5 separate regions of the Homo sapiens genome follow, and all the other regions are linked to region 1. The links are contacts of gene promoters, found by promoter capture Hi-C in blood cells and fetal thymus (Javierre and others, 2016). All regions are on one chromosome and are shown on one strand. The core of a region is centred on a gene start or on the middle of the fragment in contact, and the rest is flanking DNA. Distances in the headings are between cores, read along the strand shown. Region 1 holds the start of CLU (clusterin). Region 2 overlaps PTK2B (protein tyrosine kinase 2 beta). Region 3 overlaps ESCO2 (establishment of sister chromatid cohesion N-acetyltransferase 2). Region 4 overlaps CHRNA2 (cholinergic receptor nicotinic alpha 2 subunit). Region 5 overlaps CCDC25 (coiled-coil domain containing 25).

The links. Contacts are between HindIII fragments. The CHiCAGO score rates a contact against its expected background, and 5 or more counts as called.
Region 2: a contact is called between a fragment that was not itself captured here and the fragment with the promoter of CLU in region 1, in 1 of 17 cell types (erythroblasts). The highest score is 5.1, in erythroblasts.
Region 3: a fragment that was not itself captured here is called in contact with the fragment with the promoter of CLU in region 1 in 1 of 17 cell types (endothelial precursors); the score reaches 5.4 in endothelial precursors.
Region 4: a contact is called between a fragment that was not itself captured here and the fragment with the promoter of CLU in region 1, in 1 of 17 cell types (megakaryocytes). The highest score is 6.0, in megakaryocytes.
Region 5: a fragment that was not itself captured here is called in contact with the fragment with the promoter of CLU in region 1 in 3 of 17 cell types (megakaryocytes, endothelial precursors and M1 macrophages); the score reaches 17.1 in megakaryocytes.

What each region holds. Positions count from the first base shown.
Region 1 is chr8:27,613,310-27,616,010 of GRCh38, reverse strand. CLU (clusterin) reads left to right here and starts at 1,311. Exons shown (of 9, transcript NM_001831.4): 1 at 1,311-1,356. RefSeq lists enhancers at 1-223, 1,180-1,679 and a silencer at 1,068-1,157. The HindIII fragment of the contact is 8,616 bases long and covers 1-2,701 here.
Region 2 is chr8:27,357,854-27,360,554 of GRCh38, reverse strand. The region is part of intron 1 of PTK2B (protein tyrosine kinase 2 beta); the gene reads right to left. Among named protein-coding and RNA genes, the nearest start is that of PTK2B, 34 kb to the right of the region's middle. The HindIII fragment of the contact is 1,146 bases long and covers 769-1,914 here.
Region 3 is chr8:27,778,318-27,781,018 of GRCh38, reverse strand. ESCO2 (establishment of sister chromatid cohesion N-acetyltransferase 2) reads right to left here. Exons shown (of 11, transcript NM_001017420.3): 4 at 752-845. Among named protein-coding and RNA genes, the nearest start is that of ESCO2, 5.1 kb to the right of the region's middle. The HindIII fragment of the contact is 2,376 bases long and covers 164-2,539 here.
Region 4 is chr8:27,472,497-27,475,197 of GRCh38, reverse strand. All of the region lies in intron 1 of CHRNA2 (cholinergic receptor nicotinic alpha 2 subunit), which reads left to right. Among named protein-coding and RNA genes, the nearest start is that of CHRNA2, 5.4 kb to the left of the region's middle. The HindIII fragment of the contact is 1,528 bases long and covers 558-2,085 here.
Region 5 is chr8:27,760,224-27,762,924 of GRCh38, reverse strand. CCDC25 (coiled-coil domain containing 25) reads left to right here. Exons shown (of 9, transcript NM_018246.3): 3 at 467-506. Among named protein-coding and RNA genes, the nearest start is that of CCDC25, 11 kb to the left of the region's middle. The HindIII fragment of the contact is 4,892 bases long and covers 1-2,701 here.

The sequences.
Region 1 (2,701 bases), core at 62-2,561:
CAGACTTTCATGGACCTGGTCTGGGTTCTCCCACTTAGTCATGGGCCTTGAAGATTCCCCGAGGCTGCCTCCTGAAAAGGACTGGGGTCCTAGTGGCCCCTGGACGTTGGGCAAGCAAGGGACTGGGCCTCCATGTTGTGCCTCCATAGTCCTGATCCTGAACTGGAAAACTCAGCCCCTGACCACGCAGCTCTCCTTTAAGCCCCTTTGTTTCACATGGTTTTCAAAGTCTGCCACCCACAGTGGGGCTGCCTGTACCCGCCCTGTCCACCCATTGCCCCAGCTGTCAGCCCCTTGACTTCTCTCCTGGGGCTTAAACATCCCTGGCTCCAAAATGGGCAGCTCACTTTCTTCCCCAAGAAGTAGCTGCACCTCCAGGGTTCCTAGATTTGCCCCTCCTTGCCAGGGGGAGGGGTGGCTGCGACAGGAGATTCTCCCTGCTCTCAGCAGAAGGAACTCCAGCAGTTGGAGACCAGCAAACCCCTCTGGACACAGATCTGATTTCCTAACTGGGAAGGCTCAGGGCAAAATAAAAATTCAGGTCCACTGGTTCAAAAACTATGAAGAATTTCAAGACCGTCACAGTAGCCCATTAAACCAAACGTGGATCTGCAAGGGTCCCACAGCCATGAAGCCCACCCTGCTTGGTTGGGTTCCAAAAAGATGGGGACAGTGATTGCTTAAGCTCTGTGGATCAAGGACCCCGGAGAGGCCTTCTGGCTCTCCACATATCTGCTCTGATCACTCCTAAACACAATTCTGTTTCCTCCAGGCCTGGCGGGTCAGTCCAGGGACCCCCATCAGTGTGATGTTTCCAGGAGTAGGCGTTTCAATACTTCCTGTGCTCTCTTCTCCAGCACAAGGCCCCTCTCCATCCCACCCTCATTATGTCTGACTCTTTACTATTTAAATGGGTCAAGAGAAGTGGCGCTTGTGTAATGTGAAGGTTAAGGTCAGTAGGGCCAGGGAACTGTGAGATTGTGTCTTGGACTGGGACAGACAGCCGGGCTAACCGCGTGAGAGGGGCTCCCAGATGGGCACGCGAGTTCAGGCTCTTCCCTACTGGAAGCGCCGAGCGGCCGCACCTCAGGGTCTCTCCTGGAGCCAGCACAGCTATTCGTGGTGATGATGCGCCCCCCGGCGCCCCCAGCCCGGTGCTGCACCGGCCCCCACCTCCCGGCTTCCAGAAAGCTCCCCTTGCTTTCCGCGGCATTCTTTGGGCGTGAGTCATGCAGGTTTGCAGCCAGCCCCAAAGGGGGTGTGTGCGCGAGCAGAGCGCTATAAATACGGCGCCTCCCAGTGCCCACAACGCGGCGTCGCCAGGAGGAGCGCGCGGGCACAGGGTGCCGCTGACCGGTGAGATGTCCCCGTCTTCCCTACCCTTGAGCAGAGCCACACCAGGACGGATGGGCGGGCAGGGGATGGCAGCCAGGCAGAGAGGGATGACACAGCTCGCAGTCACAACCCCTGCGCTTTCGACGGAGCCCAGGAAGCCAGGGAGGGGAGGTGGCCGGAGCCCCATCACCAGGCAGCTGAGCCAGGGGCCCCGGCGCAACCGCCGCCTGAGAGCACGAGCTCCAACCACAATTCTGTGGTGGGGGGGTAAATAGAACAGATATAATGATCATCCTTTCGCAAAGATGGGGAAACTGAGACCTGGAGACCTGCCGCGTTGCGGGAGACCCAGGCTAGCAGGTGACAGAGCTGGCCTGCACCGAGCTCCTTCCTGCAGCATATCCTCTGCGAAGATGCGGATCTCTCAGTTGTGGCTTTCGGCTTGCATGCATGAGTCATCTAGTTTTCTTCTAAATTCTCTAGCTCTCTGGACACTGTTGCCTGTAAGTATGAGGCTGCGGATTTCAGTATATGCTGCAACCACCGAAATCCGACTTTTTCTGCCTCCTAATGCATCTGAGGTGCATCAGAGAAAAGTCACACAAGATCCACCAGGCCTCAGACCTCTGATTCCACAGTCTCATTTTACAGATGATAATCTGAGGCCTGGAGAGGTTTAGGACTGGTGCCAACACTAAACAGCAAATAAGTATCAGAATTGGGATTCGAGCCAAAGCCTCTTGACCTTCCAGAATTTCTGGACCTAGTTAAAAAAAATATGATTTTTATTATTATTTTTTAAACGGAGAGGTTAGGAATTTAAAGGAAAGTACAGATACTATATAAAAAAAGATGCCCATGAAAATGTTAAGTTATAATAATAGTGGAGCATTGGGCACAACTGAAATGGCCAATCTTGTGAGAATGGTAAAATAAACTTAGGTCCGTGAGTAAGTGGAGTATTACATAGCCATAAAAGTATGCCCTTAAAGAATATTTGAAGATGGTGAATGTGAAGAATCTTGTATAAACTGCATGGAAGACAGAAGGAAATATACCACAGTGCTAACCTTTGCCTCTGGGTGATATGAATTACCGGTGATTATTTTTCTTATTTTCCTTTTGGTTTAGTTTTCTCCATTTGAAGAAGCAGATAGGAGCCGGGGCTTTGGGATTGAAACCCTCACCATCTGTGTGCCCTCTTCACTGTCTTCCCATCCTCCCCACGGCTCCCTGTTCACAGTCATTGATTTTCTTTCTTTCTTTTCTCTCTTTTTTTTTTTTTTTCCTGAGACCAAGTCTCACTCTGTTGCCCAGGCTGGAGTAGAGTAGCGCCATCTCGGCTCACTGCAACCTCCGCCATCCG
Region 2 (2,701 bases), core at 92-2,591, 260 kb after region 1:
CCATGGTGGAGGAACGGGGCTGGAAGGAGGGAGGGACCTGGAAGGAGGAAGGGCACCAGAAACACTGAATGCTCTTGGGCTGTCCTCTGGCCTCTGTGACAGCTCCCTGTCTCTATCCCTCCCTGACCCCTGCCCAGGCCAGGCCTCCTCTGAGCATCAGCCGTCTCCCATCAGCATCAGCATGACTTTCCTTCTCTGCGGCGCTTGCCGGCATCGCGCATGGATTCCTTGGGCTGTCTGATTCCAGCCCATCTCCCATTCTGGGTGTTAAGTTCTGGGAGCTCAGGGAGGACTGTGTCTCTTTATGCGTCACCCTAGACCTAGATTCTAGTTGACTCAGTGACATTTGTTGACTGAATAAATGAAAGTGAGCTTTTGCCAATGTGAGAACATGGGGATGTATGATTTTTCAGTCCTGTAATAGACAGACCTAATGTCGACTGGGCCCTTCCCCCTTCATATGCATGGCATGCTGAATAAACCATAACAAAGACATCTTAATCACATCCGAGTGGTAAAGAAGAAATTCTCAGGTGTCAGAAATATCCGGAAAAATCTAAAGCAGTGTGTGGGCACTAAAGCTATGGAGGCCACCTGGGTATCAGAGGATGTTGGCCCAGGAGCTGGGGCCGGGGGTTTAACGTTTGTGCAGGGTGATGTCTTCAGGCTCCAGACCCTTGTGAGGCAGGGATTAACTCAACAAATACCATCCTGACTACAAGGTGGGCACTAGAAACACTGTTCACCAGCCCTGGGCATGAAGAAGCTTGACCTCTGTCTGGGTCCCAGGAAAGAAAGAAAGAAAGATAGGGAGAGAGAAAGAAAGAGAGAAGGTAAAACCCAAAACCTGTGTCATTCTACTTACATGCAGTGGGAATTCTAATCCAAGTAATTAAAATAAAAACAAATCCAGAGATGGTGACAAGTGATTCAAGCAGAGGAAAAAGCAGAACTCTGGAGTGCATTTCCATAAGCAAAAACACATAAATACCCTGCTCCTCCTGCCCCAATTCACAGTGACGATCCATACAACCAAGCAACCCACCTTGAGAAAGGGGCAGCAGATGCACGTTATAGATTAGAAAATCAAGAACTGAAGTAAATGGAATAACTTAAGACAATAAAAAGTATATTTGCAAGGCCAGGTGCAGTGGCTCACGCCTGTAATCCCAGCACTTTGGGAGGCTGAGGCAGGCAGATCGCTTGAGGTCAGGAGTTTGAGACCAGCCTGGCCAATATGGTGAAACCCCTTCTCTACTAAAAATACAAAAAATTAACCAGGCATTGTGGTGCATGCCTGTAGTCCAGCTACTCGGGAGGCTGTGGCAGGAGAATTACTTGAACCTGGGAGGTGGAGGTTTCAGTGAGCTGAGATCGCGCCACTGCACTCCAGCCTGGGTGACAGAGCAAGACTATGTATGTTTCAAAAATATATATATTTGCAATATCTAAATAGAAAAAAAAGAAGGTATGCAAAGTCCAAGATAATAATCCTAATGGCTAAAATGGGGAGGGGAGATGTTGAAAAGAAGATAATACTATAATACCAGTGGACAACAGTTTGGGACATGAGAAGAGAAAGATTAGAGTCAAAGTGCCATAAAATCCTTCCAATTTGGTAAGGAGGATAATGATATTGATTAATGTTAGACCTTAAATTCAAGTATGTGTTAAAAAATTAAAATAATAGAAACCTATTATTAGGTTTTATTTTTAACCTATTTTTCCATTAAAATAATAGAAACCTAATATATAACTTCTAAACCAATAGGCTACAAGAGGAGAAAATAATAAACACATAATCAATACAGTGAAAGGCAAGAGGTGAGAAAAGGCAAAGATGAAGCATGGCAAACAAAATAATGTAGTATACATATACTAAATATATTAGAAGTCTTAATAAATAAAGAAGCTTAAATTGCCTGTTAAAAGACAAAGACACTTAGACTTAATTTTTTAAAAATCCAGCTATCTGTAGTTTACAAGAAGCAAACCTAAAAACATTAAGACATCAAAAGTTAAAAATAAAGAGACAGAAAAATATAAACCAGTTACTAAGTGAAAGTTGATATTGATATATAAAATAGCAAATAAGATTTGAAGAAAAACATTAAAAATATGATTATGAGGAATCATGTTAAAAAGGAAAAATTTGCCAAGAAGTTACAATCATAAGCTTATATGCACCAAAACACAGACAATTAAAAATATAAAGCAAAAATGGACAGAAATGCAAAAAGTATTGCTTCTTTTCTTCTTCATGGTTTCATTTGGCCTGAGTGCTACAAAACTGTGTAGCAGTCAACTCAACTGAGGATGGCTTAACTCAGCTGAACCTACAGTGCAGAGCTATATCCACAGCCCTGTGCTGCCCTGGGGGAATTTAGATGGTTCTAACCAATCTACCAAGGAGGGGAGCAAAGAGTGAGGATGAAGAGAACTAATGAGAAAAAGGGAACGTCTACTATGTTTAAGACATTGTGCTAAGAACTAAGTAAACCTTCTTATGCAACCCCATAGAAATCCAATGAGGTTGGCTTGGTTACCCCAATTACTACTAGTAACCCCAATTTACAGAGTAGAAACCGAGCTTCAAAGATATTAAGTGACTTTTCAGAGGTCACATGACTGGGGAGCTATAGAGTCTAAATTGCAGTCATCTGACATAATCTCCATGAGGCTAGGGACCATATTTTCACTC
Region 3 (2,701 bases), core at 102-2,601, 160 kb before region 1:
TATTTTAAGTAGATGCCTTTTTGTTATATTTTCTATTGTATCAGTGCTTTGAGCACAATCTATGAAAAACATAACGTATACTAAATATTTAGCACTGCCTTATATTCAGCACTCAGTAAATACTAGTTATTAACATCATATCTCAGAATCATAAAAAAAAGCTTTATGTATTCATAGTTTAGTAAGCTATTTAATTGAACACTGACAGCATAAATTAGGAATAGGATTTCAGAATTGACAGGAATTTAAAAATTAACTTTAACTCTTTAGAGATATCTTCCTAGATCATACAGCTAATTATTAGTAAACCTAGACAAAAATCCATGGTTCTTGATGCTTAATTTCAGTGTCACTTATAAAACTTAGTAAGTTCTGCTCACAATTGGGCTTTGATCACAAATATACATAATAGTTTTAACTTCTATTATTTTGGGTGAAAGATAGAGTAGGTATGATTTTATAATGAGAACACTCAACTCTAGAGAGCTTAAGTAACTTGGCCACAGCCATAGACCAATTAAGCCTAATATTTTGTCTAAAATTTTAACCTAGGATCTCCTTGTTTCTTGTTTTTCAAAACGCAATGCACTGCTTTACTACAGAAAACAGTGTCACAGAGATAAACAAAGATACTAACCACAGGCACGCTACTGAAAAAAGAAAGACCCAGAAATTACAAGAATTATTATTGTATAATGTATGTAATAAAGCATTATTTTAAGCAGCTAAATTCATGCGAGTTTTCTCTTACTTGTCTTATTCTCACCAAGAGAATCCTCTGAAGAAAAAGCCTCATTTTTATCAACTTTATGTTCCTTTGAAGAAACTCTGTCATCTGATGAATCCTGAAAATAGGTTTAAAAAAAAAACCAAACATCTGTAATTTTTAACTATTTTCTAGTGAATGAATCCCAGCAGATCTATTTCTAAAACAAAAGATTTGGTTTATTATGAATTACATTTCATAATGTGATTTTCAATCAATTTTCAAACTATTTTTAGGAAAACTTCCCCTGTATTCACTAAGCGTACATTACCTTTAAAGCCAGAGTACAGCAGGGCCCGGTGGCTCATGCCTGTAATGCCAGCACTTTGGGAGGCCGAGGTGGGTAGATTGCGAGGTCAAGGGATTGAGACCATCCTGGCTAACATGGTGAAACCCTATCTCTACTAAAAATACAAAAATTAGCTGGGCGTGGTGGCACCTGCAGTCCCAGCTACTCGGGAGGCTGAGGCAGGAGAATTGCTTGAACCCAGGAGGCGGAGGTTGCAGTGAGCCAAGATCGTGCCACTGCACTCCAGCCTGGCAACAGAGCAAGACTGTCTCAAAAGAAAAAAAAGCCAGAGTACACGTGTTGTAATCTGTCATCCTCTCAAAAATGTGTTATACTTCCTGACAGAGATGGCAGAATGATTACAGACCATCACTTCCATAATGAAATGAACAAAAAAGCCAGTAAAAATGGCAAAAGTTTCCCCAGCAGCCACCAAACTGGAAAGGGACAACTTTTTGCCATAAACTTTAAAAATCAGCAGCTAAGGAAAGAACATTCTAGAGTCACTGGAGAGTAGCAGGAATGTGGGAAAAGCAAAGTAGAAAAAAATCCTGACAGATTTCCCTCATACTAATTTGGGAATTACTAGGGAATATATAGCTTGGGGAAAAAGGAAAAAAACTCTTGGTTAAAGTAGAACTTCTACTCAAAACCATAATATCCCAGCAGAGGTGGGATAACCCATCAGTTTAACACTTTTCAGGGCTCCATGAGTTGGGGAAAGGGTATCCTCACAAAAATCAGATTCACCGGCCAGGCGCGGTGGCTCACACTTGTAATACCAGCACTTTGGGTGGCCAAGGCAGGTGGATCACAAAGTCAGGAGTTCAAGACCAGCCTGGCTGAGAGGGTGAAACCCCGTTCCTACTAAAAATACAAAAATTAGCCAGGTGTGGTGGCCGGTGCCTACAATACCAGCTACTTGGGAGGCTGAGGCAGAGAATTGCTTGAACCTGGGAGGCGGAGGTTGCAGTGAGTTGAGATCATGCCACTGCACTCCAGCCTGGGCAACGGAGTGAGACTCCATCTCAAAATAAAAAAACAGAAAATCAGATTCGCCCTTAGCTAGCAGAGACGAATCCCAGACATGGGTATTTAGCAAAATCTTGAAAGAGCATAGCCCCGTTCCACAAATTTAAAATGCACAAAAGCCCAGCTTCCCAAACTACTGAAAACTAACTCAATACCAAACCCGTAAAGTGAAGCTAAGAAAAAGAAAATAAGACAGAAAAGAGAATTACAGAATTCTCTGTTACACTGGTTACAGAGAATTCATCAGGTCACCATTCATTTGGTACACCACCAGGCTGTACCAAACAGATAAGAATAATCATCAGGAGATGCATGGGGAAACTGCAGACTCTTCCTTTGTTTTACTGGATTGAGACAATTTTAGCTTGAGTTACGCCCCAAACTTTCAAAAAACTTAATTTTCATACAAATGTATAAGTATAAAGCACAGTTTAATACATTTTGATAAAGCTTACTCTTGTAATCAAAATCCCTATCAAGACACAGAAGTGTTTTGTTGATATAAACAGAAAATGAATTAGTAAAATTAGACTGTCATGGCTTAGCTAGCAAGAACGTATCTCATTTAACAATCTACTTGGCCATACTCGATAAACAGGAAAAAAAACAAACAT
Region 4 (2,701 bases), core at 72-2,571, 140 kb after region 1:
TGTGAGATGAGGGGAGGGCTTGTAAAACACATCACAGGTATTGCTGCCTGCTTGAAAATTATTTTTATATTAAGTGACCGATACATGTTGATAGTGGGAAATTTGGAAAATGCAGAAAACTGTCAAAAAGAATAATAATCACCTCTAATTCCTGCGCCCAGAGATAACACAGGTGATCTATTTGTATGCAGAAAAGAGATTAAAAGAGAAAAGAGCAAGATGGTAAAGCTGTCTCTGGAAATCAGTTAGCTGTGCTGTTTCCTTTGCAATGGTCTGCTTTGGGGAAGTCCCCTGGGGACAAGTCCCTGCACCTTCGAGGGCCAGAGATCCCAGACCTTGCCACTGCGGTTCACCTGAGCCACAGAAGCTGCTGATGCCCAGGCTGGGGTGGGTGCTGTACAAACATTCTGCATAATTTGCAGGGCGATGTGAGTTTACACATTATATAAAGCTGCACTCCTGAACGAGAGCTCTTGACAGTTATGCTGCAGGGTTTGCTGTGTGAACAGAGCAGCTCCAGTGGGGCTGTGTGTACCAGGCCTATCTGTGGAGAAGCTTCCCACTGCCAGGACTCCCTGCTTCTCCCCCTGGAGGCACCATTCTGGGAGAGCTTTGGGATGCTCTCTCGGGCAGTTCATTCCATACATATACTGGGAACCGCCAACCTTTTGCACCTGCCAGCTGGGGATTTTCAGAGCCAGGAAGGAACCGGGAACCTCTAAGAGCTGGGACAAAGGGAGGAATCCCAGGGCAGGATGGGGTGTAGGGTGGCATGGAGGATAAGGGCAGCTCATGGACAGGGGCAATATTCTCCCAAGGGAACAGAAGAAAAATGTAATCCTCTATTTTCAACAAGTCTTTGAATTGAAACCTTCTGGGGAAATTGATGCAGGCAGGCCCTTTTCCCCTAAAACACTCTGGTGTCTGTGCTGTAGTCAGTATATGCCAGCAATTCCAACACATTGAAATTCACATCAAATCCTTCCCACATTCCTCTTCTCCTACTTGACCCAAACTGTCATTGTGCAATGCCACTGTGGGTCATGGGCCCTGACAACCATAAGAGCAACCTGTTCCCTGACCAGCCCTCTGCAGTTCCCCGGGGACTTTCATGGGCACAAGTGATCCCGTTTGCTCCCGTCACTCCTCCCACAGGGCAGAAAGTGTCCAATCTTTATCTTAAGACAAAATCCCAGGGGGATTGAGTGACCTTTCACAGATCATCACCAGCCAGTGGTGGGGCCAGGACTCAAAGCGACATTTGCCAGTGCCAGCCCTGCTCTCATCTCCTGCCAGGAGGTTAGGATGGGCCGGTGCAACCGACCCTGGGAGAGATGGAGGATTAGTGATGCTGGAAACACTGTTGAGAGTCTGTGTCAGAGTGGACGGGGGGGATGAGAATGACTAGATAGAAGTGGTTTCACAACTTCATGAATAATAATTCTGATTCTCTCATACCCGGTGGTTTACTTTTATTTTTATTTTCTTTTTGAGATGGGATCTTGCTTGTTGTCCAGGCTGGAGTGCAGTGGCAAGATCATAGCCCATTGCAGCCTTGACTTCCCCAGGCTCACACGACCCTCCCTTCTTGGCCTTCCCAGTAGCTGAGATCACAGGCACGCACCACTATGCCCAGCTAATTTTTGAATTTTTTGTAGAGACGGCGGGGGGGGTCTCACTATGTTGCCCAGGCTGGTTTTGAACTGCTGAGCTCAAACACTCCTTCCATCTTGGCCTCCAAAAGAGCTGGAATTACAGGCATGAGCTACTGTACCCAGCCCTTGGTTTATATTTTTAAAGCCACTTTTACCCTTATTCTTTCTTGAAAAGTTGTGGCTAAATACACATAACATAAAATTGATCGTTATTGGCATTTAGTACAATTCGAACAGTGTGCAGCCGTCACCACTATCTAGTTCCAGAACATTCTCACCCTTCCAAAGGAAATCCTGCACCCACTAGCTGTACCGAGAGCCTTTGTTATCTCCCTAGGCCACATACACGATGTGTCCCGGAACATGAGGCCATGCTCTTCTCTCCATAAGGGGGGCTGTTTCAAAAAATGCTAATTTGAATGTGTAAGCTTTTAAGGCAATAATGTTATTTTAGTGATATATATATATATTTTTTAAATCAAATACTCTATAAAATAATATTTTAAAATACTGCTTTTCCCAATTTTCTCAATTATGAAACATTCATTTCATATGAAACATTATATTTACCCCATCTTTGACATCTGTGTCCTTCTGGTCACTAGAACCCTTTGTGTATTGATTCTCCATGTTTGGCAAATATCACTGTCACCACAGTCAAGAGGGGTAGCTGCTGCTTCTTAATCCATGAGGTGTTTGTTTATTTTTTAATAATAACTTTTTTTGAGATAAATTCAAATATCATAAAATTCCCCCATTTAAAGTGTGCAATTCGGTGAATTTTAGTATATTCACACATCTGTGTAACATCACACCGTCTAGTTCCAGAGATCTCTTATCCCCTCTAAGGGAAACTCAGTGATCATTAAGCAGTCACTTCCCATCCCTCCTTCCCGCTGCCCCTGCAACCACTAATCTACGTTCTGTTTCTATAGATTTGCCTATTCTGCATATTCCATATCAGTAGGATCATACAATGTGTAGGAAAAACCACAAACTGTTTTTCTCTGCTCTCACCCCACAACAATCAACACGGAAGACTTCTG
Region 5 (2,701 bases), core at 71-2,570, 150 kb before region 1:
GATTTTTATTTTCTTTTTATACTTCTAATGTTTGTTTTGTTTTAAATTTTCTGTAATTTTATAATCAAGTTAATTTTTCTTAAAGAAGTAAAATATTTCTTTAAAGTTTCAGCCAGTTCTTTTTAATGTTTAAGTATTATTAGGTGAATTGATTATCTGAAACATCTGAACTATTGGTTGCTTTGTTTTGTCAGTGTTAGTTTTATTATCTTCATATAGAAATAATATCTGAGCTTTAGATTAGAAGTATTATATAAATTTATAAAAATTATAAAGTTCATATTGTTCAATTATGAAAATTATTATTTTTTCTGTATTTTCAAGCATCAAGGCCTCCGAATTACTCTTCTTCATTGAGGGAGAGAGAAATTTGTGGGAGGAGCTGACATTTCTCCCATTCTTATAAACCCTGGCATATCTTCATTTGACAGTTTTTGTTTCTTTCGTTTCTCATATCTCATTGCAGATGAAGATCTGATCAAGCATGGCTGGCCTGAAGATATCTGGTAAGTAACAATTTTGGTTCTGCCCTCTGTAGATCATCATTTCCTTTCTTAGACTTGGCCAAGCATTCAAACTAGAATCATGCTTTGTACTGTGGTTTATGGGTCTTCAGGGTTAAACAGCTGACTGCCAGTTCCTTCATTTCTAATTACCTTGCAAGTTGGAAATGATGTTTTTGGGTTTGATCTCAGGCTTGAGAGCAAAGGCCTCTAGGACACAGGCCTTCTTTTTCCTCCTTTTTGTCTCCACGCCATAGTAAGTTACTGAGACCACACCTCACTTAAATATTCAGACCACTGTTCTTGAGTGGAAAAATGAAGACTTCACATGAAGCAATGAAGAAAATAGATACAAGCATCCATGCGGATGGAATAGACGGAGGTTCTTACTGGTCCAGCTTTAAAGGAAGCACACTTGTTCCCCTTTGTCTTCTAAACTCCCTGATGAGTTTAGCTCTGTCTTGATCCAACCCCGACGCCTTCTTTCTAAAACAATTTATGTGAACTGTTTTAAATAATAACATATACTTTCTTAGTCTCCTTTTGAGATCATTTATTTTGCTCACAAAACCCAGTCCAAAAAAAAAGAATACCAAACAAACAAAAAGACTTCATTTAAGCTGAATTCTTTTCTCTGTCTTAGAACACCATATAGACTTCTACCATTCAGACCTGGGGCCTTTTATGAATACATGGGCTTCTGTCCTATAACACTGTCACACCCAGTCTACTTTCGTTTTCTTCATCTTCAGCTTCCACCACTGACTCTGACCCTAGTATTGCCTCTCTTCTAGAGCACAGTCCTGCCTATGGAGTGGGATATCATCTTCCTGACTCCTCATACCTCCTACCAAATGCTATCCCTGAAGATAAAGGCACCTGGGTCCCGTTTGCTTTATTATGATAGTGAATATCTGTCAAGCACTTAACTATATGCCAAATACTACTAAGTGTTTACCTCCATTAATACATTTAACTTCACAACAACCCTGTGAAATAGATATTAATATTTATGCCCATTTTTTCAGATGAGGAAATTAAGGTTAAGAGAAACTGACTGGGTCTGCTCTGTCTGCTACTGGCTCTGGCTCTGGTTCTAAGTCACTGCTTCTGTCTTCTCCAGGCTGCTGCTCTTTTGGCTTCAGCTCCTTTCTTCTCCCAGGCTGTTGCTGCAGCTCTCTCTGGACCTCTTTTCTCCAAATGTGGACACAGACCCTTCACTTATTTCCCTCTAGTGATAGAGTTGGGCTACTGCTTTTTAGAAGAGTTGATTTAATTTTCTTTTTTTTTTTGAGACGGAGTTTCGCCCTTGTTGCCGAGGCTGGAGTGCAATGGTGCGATCTCGGCTCACTGTAACCTCTGCCTCCCTAGTTCAAGAGATTCTCCTGCCTCAGCCTCCCGAGTAGCTGGGACTACAGGCACCCATCATCATGCCTGGCTAATTTTTTGTATTTTTAGTAGAGACTGGGGCTATCACCACATTGGCCAGGCTGGTCTCGAACTCCTAACCTCAGGTGATCTACCCGCGTTGGACTCCCAAAGTGCTGGGATTAGAGGCGTGAGCCACCGCGCCCAGCCAGAACAAAGGAATTTTAAAGGCTTATTTAAATCTGGTCCCTATTCCAGCACAAAAACCTGTCTTCTAAATCCAAATATGTCATCAAGTTAAACCCTGCTTGGTGCTCTTTTGCCTCAAGTGGGCAGTGTGCAATGCTGAAAACATCCAGACTGGGGCTGCCCGCCTTCCTAGGGCCTGAGACAGTAAGCTGTATGAGGACAATGATCACCTATTTCATTAACTACTATGTCCCCAGTACCTAGCATAGGTCCTGGCACATAGTAGGTATTCAGTAAATATTGGTTGATTTCCTAATTGACTCCCTGCCAGCGTAGAAGCAGTCTCCATGGACATTTCCCTACAATGGCCACATCATGGTTATCTCCATTTTGAGCTCCTGCCAACCCCAGCTGGATGATTTTCAGTTGTTTTTAAAGATCTCCAGACTCTCATGGGAATAAGAATGGCTGCACCTGTTAGGCAGTTAGCTGATGGAAATTTTTAACCTATCAGGTTTGAGGCATAAAAACCTGCATAGAGAAGGTTACATAATCAGATGCAGCCTGAAAATCAGTGTACCACAGCCTTCTACCTGACTTTCATTTGTTTAAATAAATGGAAGAGAAATTTCCAGTTTACA